2 separate regions of the Homo sapiens genome follow, and region 2 is linked to region 1. The links are contacts of gene promoters, found by promoter capture Hi-C in human tissues and cell types (Jung and others, 2019). All regions are on one chromosome and are shown on one strand. The core of a region is centred on a gene start or on the middle of the fragment in contact, and the rest is flanking DNA. Distances in the headings are between cores, read along the strand shown.

Region 1 (3,945 bases), core at 537-3,036:
CCTGGAAACCTGGAGCTTCTGGAGACAGTGAGAACAATGGCTGGGTTTTTCTCTGCCTGTCATTTTTCAGTCCATGATGAGATGTTGAAGAAACAGAGTCCAAAGGTACACCAGTGTAAAAATGTTGCCAAAGTGAAAAGTGGGAGACTGATTTCCTCCTTCCGATTGATTGGAGAGCCATTCACTTTAGGGTGCTTCTGTTTCCTTACTCATCACACAGAGCACTGGAGTGTGGGAAAAATCCCCATCCCACATTAAGGTTGCCACAAAGGTAAAAAAGACCTGAAGCAGAAGTTGGGAGACCTGAGCTTATGACCTTGGACTTACAGCACAGCTGATATTTGGGGGAATAAGGTTTGTTGTTGTTTTTGTGTGTGTGTTTTGTTTGTTTGAGACGGAGTCTCACTCTGTCGCACAGGCTAGAGTGCAGTGGCGAGATCTCAGCTCACTGCAACATCCACCTCCCAGGTTCAAGCAATTCTCCCGCCTCAGCCTCCCTAGTAGCTGGGACTACAGGCACATACCATCACGCCCAGCTAATTTTTGTATTTTTAGTACAGACGAGGTTTCACCATGTTGGCCAGAGTGGTCTTGAACTCCTGACCTCAAGTGATCCGCCCGTCTCGGCCTCCCAAAGTGCTGGGATTACAGGGGTGAGCCACAGTGCCCAGCCCCTGGGGGAATAAGTTCTGAGAGGACACAGGAAAACTGGGGATTGAAAAGCAGGTTTTCACAAGAGTGGAGGCAGCTGGCTCTGTGGGTTCCCAGACTAAGGGGATCTGTGCTTGACAGACCAGAGGCCAGTTCTGTGACCATCATCTCAGCCTTGAATTTTTTTTTTTTTTTTTTTGAGACAAAGTCTCACTCTGTCGCCCATGCTGGAGTGTAGTGGTGTGAACTCAGGTCACTCCAACCTCTGCCTCCTGGGTTCAAGCGATTCTTGTGCCTCAGCCTCCCGAGTAGCTGGGACTACAGGCGCCCACCACCACCACGCCCGGCTAAGTTTTCTATTTTTAGTAGAGATGGAGTTTCGCCACGTTGGCCAGGCTGGTCTGGAACTCCTGACCTCAAGTGATCCACCAGCCTCGGCCTCCCAAAGTGCTGGCATTACAGGCGTGAGCCACTGCACCCGGCCTAGCCTTGTGATATTAACAGTAACTGTCATTTGCGGTGTGCCTACTCTGTGTCACACTCCTTGCAGTTATTCCATTTAGGGTAGAGCAACATTATTCTAGTTTACAGATGAGAAAACTAAGGCCCCAGAGATTGATTTGCCCAAGCAGCCAGCTGGCAGTGGAAGTGCCAGTTTCTTCGTGTGTAAAACAAGAGAAGGCAATCTACTGCCTACTGGCTTGTCAAGGGTCACTTGAGATCGGACGACAGGAACCACAAAGAAGTGAGGCCGGGAATTTGCGGATCCACAGTAAAGCAAGTTTGTCTTTTTCCAGACGTGCATTAAGATTCCTTTTTCAAGTGTTCTAAAGCGCAGGCGCAGGCTGTTTTGCGGTTGCCTCCCGGCGCCTCTTGTGCAGGCCGGGGTCGCCCTCTGCCGACCCAGGGCGGGAGCGCGCTGAGTGAACGTTTCCAGGCCTGAGGGCGGGCGGAGATTTTTCTCGCCTGTAGAGGGCGCAGATCGGCGTGCAGAGTAACCCACTCTAGTTGTCCCTTCCTTAAGCACTTCCTGTTTGATCTCTATGATCCATCCTGTTGGGACTTGATTCGTTCCTCAAATTTTCAATTTACCGTAAACAAAGGGGACGCGCGCTGACCCGGAAGTGAAAGCTGGAACCCGGCCGGAGTAGCTCTGAGCGCCGGCTGTGAGGAAGGAGGTTCTGGGCAAGCTATAGCCATGGCTGTGGCTGTAGCCATGGCGGGAGCCTTAATCGGGTCGGAGCCAGGCCCCGCGGAAGAACTTGCCAAACTCGAGTACCTGTCTTTGGTGTCAAAGGTTTGCACTGAGCTGGACAATCACTTGGGGATCAACGACAAGGACCTTGGTGAGCTCGGGGAGGTCCCTGGGACCTCAGTTTGGGATTGAGGGAAGCGGAAGGAGGAAGGAGGAAGGAGAAAGGTGGTTGATGGACCGAAAGTATGTTCGTGTGAATCTGTCTCTCTCTGTCGCAGACACCGGTGCCCAGGGTACACGCTGCCGTGGCCTCGGCTTGAGAGCCCTCGAGAAACTTTAGAAACTTTCCCAGAGCTGTCAGTGAAGCCCGGGGCGGTCATCTCTGCTTGATTGTTTTTTGTTTGTTTTTTCAGCCTCAATTAAACATGTTTAACAACAACAGCAGCAGATGCTGCGATGACGACGATGATGGCTGACGTTTATTGGGTGCTCACTATGTGCTAGATGCGATGCTCAGCTCTTTATTGACATTATTTTATTTGGTCTTCACGCCACTCTGTGACATAGTAGTTAGCGTCTGTGCTTTTAACTGTGTTCTTTGACCGTTCATCCTGTACTCTTTTTTGAGGCAGGGCCTCGCTCTGTTTCCCGGGCTGGAGTGCAGTGGCACGATCTCGGCTCACTGCAGCCTCCACCTCCTGGGCTCAAGCAGTCCTCCCACCTCAGCCTCCCGAGTAGCTGGGACTACAGGCGGGCGCCACCAAGCTCGACTCATTTTTAAATTTTTTGTAGAGACGGGGGTCTCACTGTATTGCCCAGGCTGGTCTCGAACTTCTGGGCTCAAGCAGTCCTCTTCCCTCGGCCTCCCAAAGTGTTGGGATTACAGGCGTGAGCCATTGCGTCCTGTACTATGTCTTAAACACCAGTCACTAGATGTTTTGGGGCAAACTACATCTGGGGAGCCGAAACTGAGGAATTAGAAAAGGCTAGGGTCCTAAAGCTAAAGCCATAGACAGATGGAGCCTTTATGAAGGTACAGAGGATGGATGGGATCAAGGGCAACCAATGGATGGATTGACCTTTGGTACGTACAGCAAGGCTTCTTCAGTTGTAACAGGAGCGAGGACAGAGAATACAGTTGCAGATTCAGATGAGTTTAGAGATTGGTGGTGGGAAGATGAGTGAGAGAGTTCCAGCCCACTCTTCAGTTTCCTAAATGAAGATAAAGTCATCAACCGGAGGGATGGAAGGGAAGGGGCAGGTGACAGGAGGGGTTAGGGAAGTTAGACGAGTGACCTTTGGTAAGATTCATAGTTTCTCTGAAGCTGTTTTTCTCATCTGTGAAGTGGGACGATGTCTTCACAGGGTCACCATATAGCATTTAGGAAGATGCCCTGCAGCCAGTATATTTTAGTTTACTTTTTTCTCTTGCCTCCCAGCCAAGATGTGTCTGTCCTATATAACTTTTCCCGCAGGATTCTTCTCTTTTAGTTGATAATGAGGTGATAATTTCGTCGGTTTTGCTATCTCGTTAATATGTTTCCTTTATTCAGCAAATATTGAGCTGGGGGCTAGGCATACCACAGAGAACAAGACAGATTTCTGCTTTCAGGGAGCTTACCTTTCTCTCTGTTTTCATTTTAACTCCTAATACCTTGGCCTTTTAGAAGAAACAAAAAAGTTATTGACATTAACCCCCAGTGTTTAATTGTTTTGATGTTAACTTCATTTGTGTACAAAAATAGAGCGAAGTATAAACTTCATAATCTTTTAGTTTATTTATAGCTAAAGATCTCAATTAATTTGCAGAAAACCCACAAATATGCTTTTTCTGTTACATACAGAATTATAAAACCAGTAACATTAAAAGTACTAACATTGGCTGGGTTTGGTGGCTCACGCCTGTAATCCCAGCACTTTGGAAGGCCAAGACAGGCCGATCCCCTGAGGTCAGGAGTTTGAGACCAGCCTGGCCAACATGGCGAAACGCCATTTCTACTAAAAAAAAAAAATACAAAAATTAGCTGGCCATGGTGACTGGTGCTATGCAGGAGGCTGAGGCAGGAGAATCGCTTGAACTCAGGAGACGGAGGTTTCAG
Region 2 (3,945 bases), core at 891-3,390, 140 kb before region 1:
CATTTAGAGTTTTTAAAGAATCTCATCTGAATTGAACTTTTTTGGGCTTAATAACCTTGTCCTCTAGCTGCATTCCTAAATAGTGATAAGGGGAAGAAGTCTGAATTTTTTCTGGAGCGATAACCAAACCAGCTGCTGCAACTGCTTGTTGTACTGCAGAGAAACAAGATATTAATACAGAGCGTGAAGGTGCTGCACAAAGAATATCATCCATGTAATGAATGACATAACATTGGGGAAACTGATCTCTTACTGGCTTTAGTATGGTCCCCACATAATATTGACAAATAGTAGAGTTATTAAGCATACCTTGAGGTAGGACTTTCCAATGGTAATGTGCTGCAGGAGGGATGTTGTTAAGGGTTGGAACTGTGAAAGCAAATTTTTCAAAGTCCTGAGGGGCCAGAGGAATGTAAAACAAGCAATCTTTAAGGTCAATGATGATAAGTGGCCAATACTTGGGAATCATAGTGGGGGAGGGCAAACCAGGCTGTAATGTCCCCATAGGTTGAAGGACAGCATTTGCTGCCCTAAGATCAGTAAGCATTCTCCACTTACCAGACCTCTTTTGGATAACAAAGGCAGGTGAATTCCAGGGAGAAAAAGAGGGTTTGACCCAATTTTAACTGTTCAAGAACCAAAATATGAAGTGCCTCCAGCTTATTTTTTGGGAGCAGCCACTGATCTACCCAAACCAGTTTCTGAGTTTTCCAAGTCAAAGGGATGGGATCTGGAGACTTGATAGTGACCACTTCTAAAAAGAATAACCAAGTCCTGTAGAATCTGGTTTATGGGTAGGTATAATAGGCTCGGTGATGCCTTGTGCTGATTTTCCCAAGCCCATATCTTGAACAAATCCCATTTTTGTCATAATGTCTTTACTTTGCTGGCTGTAACTGCCTTGTGGAAAAGAAATCTATGTCCCCCATTGATATAAAAGATCTTTTCCCCACAGGTTAACAGGAATGGGTGTAATGAGGGGGCAGATAGTTCCCATTTGTCCTTCAGGGCCCATGCAATGTAAAATTGTGGAGCTTGCATATACTTCTGAAGCGTCACCAACACCAACTAATGCTGTGGACATATGCTCCTTTAGCCAGTGTTGGGGCCATTGATGTAAAGCAATAATAGAAACATCAGCACCCGTATCAATCATTCCCTCAAACTTCCTCCCTTGAATATGCACAGAGCACACAGGATGAGTGTCAGAAATTTTGCTGGCCCAATAAGCCACTTTGCCTTGATAATCTGTGCTACCAAAATCTCTGTTTCTCATACAAGAACTGGATCCTAAAGGAATGTAAGGGAGTATCAGAAGTTGAGCAATGCCGTCCCCAGCTGCCACATTCCAAGGGACTGCAGAGCTAATGACAATATGAATTTCACCTGAATAGTCAGAATCAATTACACCAGTATGTACTTGAGCACCTTTTAAATTTAGACTTGAATGACCAAGTAGCAAACTGACACTGCCAGTCAGTAAGGGACCAAAAACACCTCTAGGAACAGCAATAGGCAGCTATCCAAGCAACAGAGAAATGTCTCTGGTACAAGAGAGATCTATTGCTGCTGAGCCTGCAGTGGCAGGAGACAAACACTGTACTGAGATTCCTGCTGGGGCTGGGCCATTAGATCCTGTGGCACAAATTGCTGAAGTGGGAATTGGGGTGGAGGTTGAATCGATTGGACTGGGAAGGCACCCATCTGGCTGGATGCCAGGGGCTGGGAGTTGAGGAATGCGCCATTGTTTAGAGGGGCCTGGGGCCAGCCCCTCGTTCCATTTCCCTGGTTGTTAAGCGACTGTAAAGGATTACCATCAATATCAAATCTCGAATGGCATTGAGCAGCTCAGTGATTTATCTTTTGGCATCGTGGGCATAAAGTAGAAGGTGGGACTTTCTGTTGTTGAAAAATTTTTTGTTGTTGGTGGTGGTGGGGTTGAAAAGAATGGCAACATGTACACTGGGGACAATTTCTTTTAGCATGTCCTGTCTGGCCGCATATAAAGCATTGGCCAGTGAATTGTCCAGGCGTTCGAATAGAGGCCATGGCTTGTGCCATGATCATTGCTGTGTGCAGAGTTCCTCCCACACCTTCACAGGCTTTAATGTAGGAGGTGAGTATATCACACACACACACACACACACCCATGGAATTTTACCTTTAACAGGGCGAATAGCCACCTGACAATCTGGATTTGCTTGTTCATAAGCCATGAGTTCTACAACAAGTCAATGGCCGTGGCTCAGGGATAGCTTTTTCTGCTGCGTCTTGGAGATGGGCAATAAAGTCTGGGTAGGGTTCATGTTGTCCCTGTCTGACTGCCGCAAACGATGGGCATACTTTGCCATCATCTTGAATCTTTTCCCAAGCATCTAAGCAACATTTCCACAGTTGTTCAATAACCACATCATTTACTATAGTTTGGTTTCTAATTGTAGCCCACTGACCCATTCCCAGTAACTGGTCAGCTGTAACGTTAACAGGAGGATTGGAGCCCTGATTAAGATGAATGTGTTCCTGGACAGCATCAACCCACCAAGTCCTGAATTGTAAATATTGGGATTTAGATAAGACTGACTTTCAGTCAAGTGAGCATTTTTTAAGAACACGTTGTACTGAGAACCACTTAAGCATTGAATGCGGAGAAAGCAGTGCTACCTCAGTTTTGCTGGAAGTAGACTTCTTTGATAGTTTTCTTTCTTTGATGAAGTTTCTGTATTTTCATGTTGTAAGTGGAAATACTTTTTTTTGTTTGTTTGTTTCATTTGCCTTGGAGCCAAAGTTTCTGTTCCTGGTGGTCGGGAAACTGCCTGCCGGCCAACTGACTTGAAGGAAAACTGTGGTATGGAGCTCTGCTTGAATTTTTTTTTTTTTAATATTTTTATTTTTTTCTTTGAATATCATCAGCTTACTTGTCTGGCAAGGGCAGAAGCCTGGGGTTGGCCTGAACTCTGCCAAACAAATATCAAAGTGTATTTAATAGTTAAATTTGTGCCCTTTCCCTTCTTGCTGCACCCATGTTGTCACTTAACCCCCAGGAGTTATTTATTATCTTTTTGTCAAAGTCAGGCTCATTTGGGGTAATGTGATGACTGTTTAGGTTTACATGACCCTCCTCTCCTTTCCCTACCCCCAAATATGTATATATACATATATAAAATATGTATATATTTTACCTATATAAAATATATATATATACACATATATGTATCTATATTCCTTTGTTTCTTTGCCTGCTTATACTGGCCATAAAAGAGGGAGCTGCCTTCAATGTATAAAGTATAAGAAGAGTGCCAGGGAATGCCATAATGGAGGTTTTTGGATCTGAATTTGGACCATTTCACTAAAGAGAACATGAGTTTGCTCAACCCTTTCCTCACAAGAGGGAGGGCCCCGGTTCCCCAGACTTCTCCACGCACTGGCTCCATAAAGGCCAGCTTTGGCCAGGCTGCCACAGGGGCCTGAGGAGCTCACTCTGGGCCTACCTGGTTTCAGTTAGAGGGTCCTCCTGTTATTTTTCCATTTAAAAAGTATGTCCTCATAAAACTGTACTGGAAGGATGGGTGGCAGGAACTTGTATAGTTCAGCTTCCAACACTTTGGAACAGATTAAAAAGGGAATCTTTTAAATAAAAACTTATAAAAATAAAAAAAAATAGATAAGACTGACTTTGCTAAAATCTCCCAGTCATAGGGCACCAAACGTTTATTTATCTTCTGCTAGGGCTTTTAATGTGGAACGGACAAAAGGAGAGTTGATGCTGTATTGTTTTACTGATTCCTTGAAATCTTTGAGGAATTTAGAAAAACTTTCCCAAGGAGCAGGGCGTAGCTGAACCTGAGCTAGAAGTATGGGGTCAGGTTGAACTACTGTCTGAACTGCTGGAATACCAGGTACTGGCTGTGCCCCAGCGGAAGGCAGTTGTGGAGCCTGATTATTTCC

The links. The method cuts DNA at HindIII sites, captures the fragments that hold promoters and counts their contacts. A contact is called where the count stands out against the background at its distance.
Region 2: a fragment that was not itself captured here is called in contact with the fragment with the promoter of DHX8 in region 1 in 1 of the 25 tissues and cell types used here (bladder).

What each region holds. Positions count from the first base shown.
Region 1 is chr17:43,482,189-43,486,133 of GRCh38, forward strand. It overlaps DHX8 (DEAH-box helicase 8), which reads left to right and starts at 1,787. Exons shown (of 23, transcript NM_004941.3): 1 at 1,787-1,997. The coding sequence starts at 1,850. RefSeq lists enhancers at 1,480-2,322, 1,622-2,051. The HindIII fragment of the contact is 21,666 bases long and covers 1-3,945 here.
Region 2 is chr17:43,343,179-43,347,123 of GRCh38, forward strand. No RefSeq gene overlaps it. Among named protein-coding and RNA genes, the nearest start is that of LINC00910, 44 kb to the right of the region's middle. The HindIII fragment of the contact is 8,528 bases long and covers 1-3,945 here.